Regions from separate parts of the Homo sapiens genome. Here region 2 is linked to region 1. The links are contacts of gene promoters, found by promoter capture Hi-C in blood cells and fetal thymus (Javierre and others, 2016). All regions are on one chromosome and are shown on one strand. Each heading gives the region's core, a stretch centred on a gene start or on the middle of the fragment in contact. The rest is flanking DNA. Distances are from core to core; before and after follow the strand shown.

Evidence for each region. Contacts are between HindIII fragments. The CHiCAGO score rates a contact against its expected background, and 5 or more counts as called.
Region 2: a fragment that was not itself captured here is called in contact with the fragment with the promoter of PTPRE in region 1 in 1 of 17 cell types (M2 macrophages); the score reaches 5.1 in M2 macrophages.

What each region holds. Positions count from the first base shown.
Region 1 is chr10:127,904,871-127,910,797 of GRCh38, reverse strand. It overlaps PTPRE (protein tyrosine phosphatase receptor type E), which reads right to left and starts at 3,695. Exons shown (of 21, transcript NM_006504.6): 1 at 3,489-3,695. RefSeq lists a silencer at 3,732-3,851. The HindIII fragment of the contact is 4,276 bases long and covers 545-4,820 here.
Region 2 is chr10:127,863,998-127,869,924 of GRCh38, reverse strand. It overlaps the pseudogene BUB1P1. Among named protein-coding and RNA genes, the nearest start is that of CLRN3, 26 kb to the left of the region's middle. The HindIII fragment of the contact is 2,842 bases long and covers 1,822-4,663 here.

The DNA.
Region 1 (5,927 bases), core at 2,446-4,945:
ACTTCACTGATTCTTACATGTGCAATGCACAGCATTAGATGTTGTAGGGGAAAGATAACCACAGTTTACTGCATACCAGCCAAGCGGCCTGTCAATTATATGTATCCTATGTCCCCCTCACAGCAGCAGCCCTGGGAAGTAGCGATGATTACTCCCATTCTAGAGAACACTGAAGCCTGCATTTTGAGTCATTTAGCCAAGGTCACACCAGAGTCAGAACTTGACTGACTGAACCCAAAGTACATGCTCTCAGAGACACACCCTCCACCCTTAAAGCACTGGCTGCCTAGTGGAGGAGATAAACTACTTGAGCAAGTGAACTGGAAATCAAAGTCAAGTCCAGTAAGTGCTTTAGGACAGGCAGAAATAACGTTCTATGGAACCAAGAGTAAGAGAGATTCCTCTCAGGTAGGGGAGCCAGGAAGGCTTTGTGGAGACTGAGACTTTTGAGGTGGGCCTTGAGGTATGGGTAGGAGTTTCTAAGATGGAAATAAAGGGGAAGGAGGCTGAGAGCAGGGAGCTGAGTCTTGGGATCTGGAAAGCTTTGGGAGCTTTATGGAAGACAAAGCCATTGGGTCAGTAGGAAGAAAGCCAAAAGAAAAACTAGAGATGTTCTTAGAACTGTAGTTTTCTTCCCAAGTGATATTCAAATATTAAGAAGGCCAGTCTTTACCCTAATGGATACATTCATTCCTGCTTTGGCAACAGAACTTCTGTGAGGGTGACTCAAATGTTATAAATGAAAAAGACTTGTCTAGCAAGGGAATACGGGGCAGCTTCGATCCTGTTCCCTCCCTGCTCCCAAGCCTGCCTCCCTGGGAGGTCACTTGGGGTGTCTCTGGTCCAAGCCAGCAGTCATTTTAGCAGGTGAGTCCAGCATCTCCAGAAGGGCTGGCCACATGAGCCCTGGATGGACCATGCCCATCCACATCGGCAAAAATGTGTGGCTGCCTATCAACCATACAACATCCACGCAACAGACACACACTTGCTCCATCAGCACATGCGCTTCGGGAAGGTCTCACTTCCAAGTTGTTTATCCATGGACAGTAGTCCTCAAGGCTCCACTGGTAGGCACATGGCTGGGCACTGGAGATACAGTATTGCCCTCTCTTCACAGAAACTATAGTCTGGCATACATTTCAGAAGCAACATGGAGGCTGGTGGAATTGGATGGATAAAGACAACACTGGGAAAGTACTGGAAGGGGAGGGGAGATCACAAGTTTGATTTTGACGCATTGAGTCAAGGGGCATTTGATATCCCAGGGAGAAATGTCAAGTGGGCAGCTGCGGAGGAGAACTACAGAGGAGTGGCCGGGCCTAGAAACACACCTCTGGCCTTCAGGGAGGGAATATTGATCAGCGGTGCACCTTAGACTAGGCTAATGGTGGTGCAGATGGAGCACAGTGGACCCACTGAGGCACAGCTGGGAGAAGCATACTTTCACCAGTTGAAACTGATGCATCTACCATCACCCCCACTGTGAATGCATCTTCTCTTGGGGTTTGGGGGCAAGATTTGCACACACAGCCACCTCTCTTCTCAGGGGCAAGGATGTACACACACAGCCGCATCTACTCTCAGGGGCAATGGTTTGCACACACGCATCCCTGGAGAAGAGGGGGCTCCCATCAGGGCACAGTGCTTCAGGACCTCCTCCAGGCTTCCGTGGAGGTGGCGGTGCTGACACAGGGAGCGCATCTCTCTCTGCCAGCTGTCCCCCACAGAAATGAGAGGTGGCCTCTGTGTGACTTTCCGCATTGTCCTCACTTTGTGTCCACACAGGGCCTCCAAGAAGCATCACACGTAAAGACAATAACACCCTCATCGACTTCCCTCAACTGGTTTGACTGGAACTGATGAGGGAGTGTGTGACTAAGTCCCAAGCCATCTGGACACATCCAGTGACCTGACCTTTTACAGAGACAAATCTAGCTCCTAGCTCTTGTCCACATGGGAACGGTCTGTTGGGGCAGGGAGGGGGCGGTGGTGACTCACAGGCATCACCAACATCAATGAACAAAAATCTTGGCCCCCAAGGTCAGATTCAGGGGCAGAGCCTTGTCTGGGAAGGGCTGGGTGGTACGTCAGGCCTCTCTCACTGACAGCGCAGCCCCCACCTCTTGGGCCTGCTCCACCTCGCCTCTGACCTTTTGCTCCCCAAATGCCAAGAGCCTGTGCTTGGAAAGTACAGACCCTAACCCTGTTCACACCACAGAGCTCTGCCCATACCATGCTGGCTGAGTGACCGTGGTGGTCAGACGCTTGCCCCAGCCACTGGCCCCCACCATTTCATGCCCTCCTCTGGCCATTATCCCAGTTTTGGAAACGACCCTCCACACCCCCCCTCCCCACCCACATACACACAGTTTAAATGGACAAGAGTCGTTAGTGTGCAGAGGCAGAACTTCATCCATCTTTGGGACACAAAGACCTCCAGACGCCCTGGGTCAAGGGGTACCTGGGGCCAAATGCAGAGCTGACTGGACATGGACACAGTAATTTCTGTATCACGTGATCACTCTTTGCTGGTGTTCATTCAACTCACCTATACGCTCATTCACTCTAAAATACAAGCAGAGAGCTGTATTCTTTCTTTGAGTTTCCTGGATTGAAACTCTGATGGAATGGTCACGACTCAAGACAAACCAATATCATAATTCTGCAAGTATAATTGCCTAATCTTTCTGGAAAGGTTTGCATGCCTGGAAGGAATTTAGGTCAGGTCCAGCGCGGTCTCCATCCGGCTTGGCTCTGCCTCCCCATCCTGTGGGTTGCCCGGCCTTCCCCAGATGGTCCCGGGAGCTCTCAGAATTGGCACCGCGCTCGCATCTGTGCTCAGGAGCCCTGTGAGGTCGTCGACCCTGCAAATCGCGGCAGTCCAGCCTGGACCACCTGCCAGGGTCTCCCTGCCGCATCTCCGACCCCCGGCGGCTGCTGCATCCCGCTCCACCTGCCTCCCTGGGAAGGCGCGGGCGCCCGCCCGGCTGCGGGGCAGCATCCTGGCAGAGCGCCGGCCCCTCCCAGAGTTGGCACAACTCGAGCCACTTTCTTCAAAGGCTCCAGCCTCCAGCCTCGAGTGGGCGCAGCCCCCCACGCGCGGCCTGCACCCCCTCTCTGTGTCGCCCGCTTTCACGTACGCCGCCCTGCCGCCGGCCCCCGCGCACTGTAGCCACCCGCAGACACGCGCGCCCTCCTCCTGTTTACCGAGAGGGAGCGTGAGCACTGCCACTGTGGTCGCCAAGTTGGGCTGGGGACTCCGGGTGAGGGGACGCGCCACAGGCCGGGGTCGGGGGTCGTACGGGCCCCAGCCGCTGGTACTGGGCGCGCCGCGGGGGCGGCGGGGCCGGGGTCCGGACTCTGAGCCCCGGAGCGGCCCCTCCCTCCCGCGGCAGCGGCCGAGGCAGCGCCCCGGCCTGCTTGGGCCTCCCGGGGTGCACAGTTCCCCACAGGGGCGCAGGGTCCCTGTCCGCACGCGCGCTCACCTCGGGGGGGCCGGTCTGGTCGCGCAGATCGCGCTGCAGCGGAGGCTCCGCATCTCCCGGGCGCCTGCCCGCCGCCCTCCGGGGCGCCCGGCTGTCTTCGCCGGGCGCGAAGAAGGGTCGCGGGGACGCGCAGAGGCCGTGGGTTCCTGAAGCCGCTCGCGCCGGCTCCTGCCGCCCGCTGTCCGCAGCCTAGCAGGAAATTTGTCCGGCCGGCCGCGTCCCGCCGCCGCCTCGGCTCCAGCTCCGGCTGTGGCTCCGCGGCGGGGGCGGGGGCCTGGGCGCTGCGAGGAGCGGGGGCGACGCCTGGTGCCCGGCGCGGGGAGCGCATCCAGGGCGCCCGCCCCACCTGCGAGGCGGGTATGGCCCTGAGGCCCTGCGGCCCTGCCCTGGGAGCACCCAGACACTGTGGGCATCCGTTTACTCAAGGCTGGTGCCCCTTCCGGGGAGGCCTGGTCCAGCCACTCCGCCGGGACCCAGGTGCGTAGACAGAGGGTCAGGGTATGGCAGGCACTCACACCTGGTGGAGAGCAAAGGCAAGGCCCTGCCTCTCCCTGCCCTATCCCTGTGCACCAGGAAGTGGCCTGACTAGGGACTCGCCCTGGTCTTGCAGCAGGTGTGGGACACGCAGGGCACCCCGTGCGCTTCTGGTGCGAGGAAGCTGGGAGAGCTGTGAGGTCGCTGGGCCTGGTGGCCTCCTCTGGAAAGAGGAGGGGATAAGGCGCCTGTCTGGGGGATGTAGAAGAGGGCTCGCTTGTCCCGAAGGCAGTATCTGTCAAAGTTAAAAACGCACAAAGAGAAAGAAGAGCGACAGAGCCAGGCACTGGGCCTGCTGTCTAGCCGACTTCTTCCAGGGAATTTCACTCAAGCTATTTAGGGAGCTTTCAGAGAAAAGGCAGTTCCCTGGAAGGAGCAGAAAAGACACTGGTGGCATGTTGGTTCTGAACCTTTGTGCCGTGCCCTCTGGATGGGGCCACGGCCCAGCCCTCATGAGGGAAGCTGCATTCTGTGGTAGGGACCCAGCTCATTAGGCTTATGAATGAATGAATGGATGGGGAGAAAGTGGCACTTACGGTGTGTTACCCCACGTTGCACCGATTGCCAGCCGACGACTCTTAGCATACTTAAGGCCTGTTTAGACAGAGCTACGGACCCCAAAGGCTGCAGAGCAATGGGTGCCTCCTGGCAGAGGCCACCCCCACGTGATTTGCCCAGAGTGGGACTTCCCCTCCACAGGGGCCGGAGAGCTGCGAAACCAGTGGAGAACTTGAGCTCCACCTCCCTGCCCTGCCCTGCCCATTTCTGTCCCTGGGGGCCTTGTCTAGCCCCAAAGCTTTAAACACCATCCGTATGGGAATGACTCTAAGCAGCACCACTCTGGGGCCCTCTCCTCCAAGCTCAGCTCCTCCTGGCTGTCTCCTGCTGTCTCAGACCTGCCTCTTGCTCTTACTTAGTTTCTCTGCAGTCGTCCCTGTCCCTGCCTCCGTGTCCCACCTCAAGTCCACCTCCCAGAGGGCCCAAGTCCACTTCCCACTGGCTTCTCCATGCATCTTGCCCTTTCATCTCACTGCCTGCGCCCCTCCAAAACCTGCAGTGGCTCCCCAGCTTCTGACCCACTCTCCCAGATGATCCATTCTTCACACTTGGTCCCAGGCACCTCACAAAGTGTAAACCGGGTCCTGCTAGCCCCCTGCTTAAAAGCCTCCAGGAATATTAAAACCCAAACTCCCACGAGGCTCTGCCTGACTTCCCTGGCTGCTCTGAGCCTCTCACCCCTGCCCGCTGGGCTCCAATCACGGCTCCTTTCTCTCAGTGCCAGAGCCAAGCTCCTTCCTGCCTGGGACTCCTCCAACCAGTGCACCTGGTTCCTTCTTACTGGTGGCTTCTGGAAGATCGCCCTGCATCCATCTCTTCTGCCACTCTCTTCCACATCCTCCATCACAGTTTGGAATTATTTGTGGGTTTATTGGCTCCTTTTGTGTCTGTCGTGCCCTCTTCCCCTACCCCCAGGGCTGTAAGCTCCAGCAGCCTAGGCTCTGTTGATCTCCATGGCTTCTCAGACTCAAGCTCCTAAAGCAACGTCAGTAGCCAGGAGGTGCTCAGTGAAGGCGTCTGGGCTGTCAGAGCAGAGGAGGATGGGCCCCAGCCAGCAGCAGCAGACAGCCTGGTCACCTCGGAGCCCAGCAGGGCGGGTGGCTCCCTCCTGAGTGCACCTCCAAGGAACAGCCCAGGTTGAGGTGGGGCCAGGTAGCACATGACGTCACCAGGCTTTGGATTTTTCTGCTGTTGTGGTCTACAGAGTCAGGCTTATGTACATGAAGGCCATAATTACAAAGCTCTGCTAAGCACAGTTTTGCTTGTTAACGCTGCAGGGCTGAGGAGGCAGAGACTGTGAGCTAAGAAGACAGAAACAACTTGCCTTTGTCAGACATCTGCTATTGG
Region 2 (5,927 bases), core at 1,993-4,492, 40 kb after region 1:
GACAAGGCTTTCAAATTAACCTAATCAGACAAAAATAAAGGAAAAAAAGAATTAAAAAAAATAAACGAAGTTTCCAAGAAATATGGGAAAACAGCTAAACCTAAGAATTATAGGCATCCCTGAGGTAGAAGAAAAAGCAACAAGTAGGGAAAACCTATTTGAGTAAGTAATTGAGGAAAACTTCCCTAGCCTTTCTAGAGATTTAGACATGCAAATACATGTCTAAGAAGCTCAAAGAACTCCTGGGAGACTCATTGCAAAAAGGACATCACCAAGGCATATAATCATCAGGCTATCTAAAGTCAATGTAGAGGAAAAAATTCTAAGAGCAGTCAGACAAAAGCACCAGGTAACCTACAAAGGAAAACCTATCAGACTAACAGCAGACTTCTCAGCAGAAACATTACATGACAGAATGCAATGGAGTCCCATCTTTAGTCTCCTCCAAACAGAATAATTGTCAGTCAAGAATTTTGTATCCAGCAAAGCTAAGTTTCATAAATAAAGGAGAAATAAAATCTTTCTCAGACAAGCAAATTCTGAGGGAATTTGTTAATATTAAACCAGTCCTGAAAGAAATGTGAAAAGGAGTTCTAAATCTTGAAACTAAAGGTTGATACACACAGAACAGAAACTCCTGAGAGCATAGAATTTACAGGGTTTATAAAACAATAACACAACGGAGAAAAAAAAGTTACTAGGTAACAATCAATACAATGACTGAAACAGTAACCTACATCACAATGTTAATGTTGAATATAAATGACCTAGATTCTCCACTTAAAAGATACAGATTGGCAGAATGGATAAAAAATTACAAACCAAATATCTGCTGTCTTCAAGAGACACAACTAACATGTGAGGGTTCATATAGACTCAAGGTAAAGGGGTGGGAAAGGATATTTTGTGCAATTGGAAAACAAAATGAGCAGGAATAGCTATTCTTATATCAGATAAAACAGGCTTTAAAGCAACAACAGTAAAAACAGACAAGGAATGACATTATATAATGATAAAAGGACCAATTCAATCAGAAGACATAACAATCCTAAATATATATGCATTTTTACATATAATAAAATCTGAGCTCTCAGATTCATAAAAATATTACCATTAGACCTAAGAAAAGAGATAGACAGTAACATAATAATAGTGGGGGACTTCAACACTCCACAGATAGCACTAGACAAATCATCCACACTCCTCCAAGTATGGGGTGGTGATGTCCCCAGTGACAAGTTGTGCAGTTTGATGCCAATGCCTTGATACTGTGGTAAGGTCAACCCATCTCACCCACCATTGCTTTTCCACCATCTGTTCAAGTATCCCCAAAGAAAAAAGGAAATAACATCTAAGTATTGTGATGAAAATAGTTTTGATCTTGCAAACCTCACAGTGTAGTCTCAGGAGCCTCCAGGAGTCTGGGACCACTTTTTAAGACCCGATGCTATAGATGCCTCCCACCGAAACTCTGCCATTCTGGAATAAATCAGACAAATCTAGTTTATTAAATAAATGTCACACACCTGGTTTTGGTCTTCCCATCAGTTAGGTTTTGATATAGAATTTTCAGGAATCCAAAAAGTCCTGAATCTTGAAGACAATCTTCTATTTCTTTAGTGATTATTTACTTTCCTGTGGGTAGCTTCTTAGACTTGGGAAAAGGTCCTTTCTTCAAAAGGTGATCAACGGAAAACAGCAAAAAATTCAGATTAACCTGTTAACTTGGAGTTTGTATCACTATTAAAAAGCATTTGAATAGTTATTCACTGATTTAGAGAAAATAATCTCATCATCTCGTGGGTCCTCAACACTAAAGCTTATAGTGTCAACACTTCCAAATGGCTTGCATCTAATCTTTGGAAGACTCACTCTGCCATCAGCAATTGACCTTTGTGCACAGCCAGTCTCTGTGTTAACCAGTCCAAGGCCCTGCTCCACCTGGTCTGTAAATATACTCCCTGAAGCTGGACTTCTTAGAGTGAGTGAGGTTGCTGAATATACATCTGTTGGCCATAACTGTTCTGGACTCTTCTTTTCAACAGAGTCTCACTCTGTCACCCAGGCTGGAATGCAGTGGTGCAATCATGGCTCACTGCAGCTTCAACCTCCTGGCCTCAAGTTATCCTTCTTCATTGCCCTTTCAAAGTGCTAAGATTACAGGCATAAGCCACAATGCCCAGCCCTGGACTCTTTCTTTGAATTGGAATTAATTTTTCTTGTCTTTTTTTTGTGTGTGTGAGATGGAGTCTCGCTCTGTTGCCCAGGGTGGAGTGCAGTGGCATGATTTTGGCTCACTGCAATCTCTGCCTCCTGGGTTCAAGTGATTCTCCTGCCTCAGCCCCCTGAGTGGCTGGGATTACAGGTGCACAACATCATGCCTGGCTAAGTTTTTTTTGTATTTTTTAGTAGAGGTGGTGTTTCTCCATGTTGGCTAGGCTGGTCTTGAACTCCTGACCTCAGGTGATCGCCCTCCTTAGCCTCCCGAAGTGCTGGGATTACAGGCATGAGCCACCATGCCTGGCAAACTTTTCGTTTTGTGAGGGCTCCGTTATGTCTTTATAAAAATTCAAAGTTATACAATAGTTTGTAATCACATGTTTTTTTTTTTAAAATCTTCAAGAGCTTTCCCTGCATCATCTGGAAGTGTGTTCAGTAGTGTTGGAAGCAAGCTGTGTGGCAAATGTAAATCCTCCTGCTTTTAGGTTTTAAATGCACAAGCCAGGTTCTGTTGTAGCAGAAGCTCCCAGTGGGAGGGCCACCCAAAAACCCTGTAGCATGAAATACTTCATTTTATCTTGAAGGAAATCTGCTTGTTGCATGCTCTCCAAAGGATCTGGCTCCTGCCTGTAGGTTTAGTTTTAGACTGATGTATTCCATAATTTTCTTTGTTTCTATCTTTAAATGCTGGAGAACAGGCTAGGAAAGAGGGAGGAATAATTGTATTGACTCCTCAAACTACAGAAGACTTAAAAAAAAACTAGGTTGTGTTTAAATTGCATCTTCATCTTGATCCAAGGTGACCATTTATCTTTGTCACCAGCAACACTCAGGTCTACCCTCTGCCAGGACAGTGGCTTCCAGATGACTAGTGTGCCCATTGGACTATTGGACTCTACACACAATGGTCTCAGATCTCTGTATTTGTTTAGTTTCTGGATTTTTCCTTTCTAGATAAATGCTCTCTTTTCTTGCTGCTTGTTTTTTCTTTCAGTTTGCTTCTCTGCTGTTTAGACACTCATTTGTAGAAGGCCATGACCCACTTCTAATTTGCTGATTCTAGTTTTACGTGAACGTAACAGCACCTAGCTGAGCTTCCTGGCCCCATCCCTTCTTTCAACAATGCATGGGCATCCTTCTTGGGTGAGCTGCTATGCTGACTGCTGGAAATGTGGAAATACATGAAGACAGTAGCGGAATAAGGACAGTGTACCACAAGCGCCCAGTGGAGGGAGGAATTATCTGGATGAGTCAGTAGTAAAGTCGTCCTAGAGGAAGAGATCCTTTTACTGAGGCTTGAAGGACGACTAGGCGATTGTCCTGGAAGTGGGAGGCGGAGGATATTCTGGCCCCTGTCCTGGGGAATTCTCTTTGAGAACTGCTGTTTGAACCAGTTTCCAGGCCACACAGGAAAACAGCCCCCTTCCTTGAGAGCCTTGTCCCCAAGTAACATTCCACAACTCAGTCACAGTCTTGGTTCTGAATCGGCTGATTCCAAAGGCTAAATAAATCTACCTGCAAGAAGGTTTTCTTCCATTCAGGCTGCTACCTTGGGCTTCTGAGGCAATTCCTAAACCTGTTTTGAGAATGGTCACATGATTGAAATAGGTAAACAGTCTTCTATAGTAAGTAGGAACTGTTTCTAACCTGCAGTTAGGTTTCTAAATTAGTTTTTGTTATGCTGTAACATAGAACTCAATTGGAACAATATTATCAAAGGAAGGTTAAGATCCCAAGATGGTCTCCATTTTGCAACTAAGAATCTATATATTAATAAAGCCTTTGAAACTAATTTCCATGTTTTACTCTGTTTCTATGGAGAATGACAGTTATGGAAGTTGGAGATGTGGAGAACGTGGTTACATCCATGCATGGGATGTGACGAAGCAACTGAAAATCACGCTTGAGGAGATGATATGTACAATATGATGTATGAAAAAGGCAGGAGTGAGATTGTTAACACAGGTGCCTCTGGGTGGTGAGGCGTACTGGGTTTAATTTTTCCTAACACTGTCCTGTTAAAACAAAAGTCCTCCATATTCACACAATGCTTCTAATACCAAATGTGTAGTTATCGACACCAAATTCCCCAATTCTGTGGGGACACCAGCTGGGTGTCCTACAATTTAATCCACTTCTGACACTATCTACCTGGAGTCTGGGCAGACTCCCCAAATTAAAGAGCTTACCCTCCCAAGACTGCCCCACTTCAGACACCAATCACAAGTAGTGGGTCCCCAGGTTACCCACACTTCTCTCCATCTTGGCTGCAAATCAGAGGTTCCCCCATTCCCCCCCTCTAGTTTGATAATTTGCTGTAATGACTCACAGATTAAGGGAAACACATTACTCCCTATTACCAGTTTATTACCAAGATACAACTTAGGAACAAATGGCAGAGACACATAGGACAAGGTACTAGGGGGTAGGGTAAAGAGAAGCTTCCATGCTGTCTCCAGGCACAGCACCCTCCCAGCTCCTCGGTGAGCTCACCAACCTGAAAGCTTTTTGAACTCCATCATGTGATGGTTTTCTGGGGGCCTCATTGATGAAGGCATGATCACTAAATCGTTGGCCATTGATGATTAAGTCAATCTCCAGCCCTTTTCCCCTCTCTGGAGGCTGGGGGTGAGGTTGAAAGTCCTAATTCACTCATCAGGCCTTGGTCTTTCTGGTGACCCACCCCTATCCCGAAGCGACCCTATGGGCTCCCAGCCAGCAGTCATCTCATTAGTAGAGAAAAGACACTTATCACTCTGGAGATTCCAAGGGTCTTAGAAGTTCTTGTGTTAGGAATGAAGGACGGAGACCAAATATTATAACAAAAGATGCACCTATCACCCCTATCACACAGGAAAGTATAAATAACCAACAGAAATTTATTTCTTGCAGTTCAGGAGCTTGTGTCAGGAACCAGGGACAGAGACCAACTATGCATTTCTTATGATGTCATAATTAGCATGCATTACTTTTATATTTAGCAACAATATTCAACGTTTTCCTTTTTAAAAAGGAAGAGAACAGAAAATGGGGAAAATTAATTCACTTTTCATAAGGTCTGGAGGTTTTAGAGCATTAGCCAGAATCATAGGAAAGGGGTAAACTTGGAATTGCAAAGCTTGCTGGGGGTTTGATTTCAACTGCAAAACTGAGAGCATGTGACTAAAATGCTGGTCCAGTTGCTCATCACTTGTAGAATCCAGTTAACAAGAGTGAGGTCTGGTATAAAGAAAGTAGCTTTTTCACTCTAAAGCTGGCTTAAGGGAATAAGTATAAGCTTCCTGCCTAAGGGTACCATTTAGCTTTTGGAGAAGAAAGTGAACACTTGTAAGGGAGGCCTAACATGAACGGCATGTGGTAGGCGGGCTATCGGGGAGTCCAAGGAGGCAGGAGTGGGGGAAGTGAGCAGTTTTGGGGCCCATGTGTTAGCTTGGTAGATGCAGTCAAGCTAGTGATGGCTGGTGTCTTCGTGGGCATGCATACTTTGAGTTGTAAATCTACTGTTATCTCTTGAGGCAACTTCTTGGTGGGTGAGTTCCCTTCTGAAGCTCCCAAGCACATAGTTAGATGAACTTGCCCTGTAGGGAGTGTCTAATAAAAGGAGGTAAAAAAGGCTATATATGCATTTCTAAAGGGCTAAGTAGGAAGTAGGAAGTGTGGAAAAGGAGAAAAGAGAAAAAGAAAGAGGAAAGAATAATTAAACTATC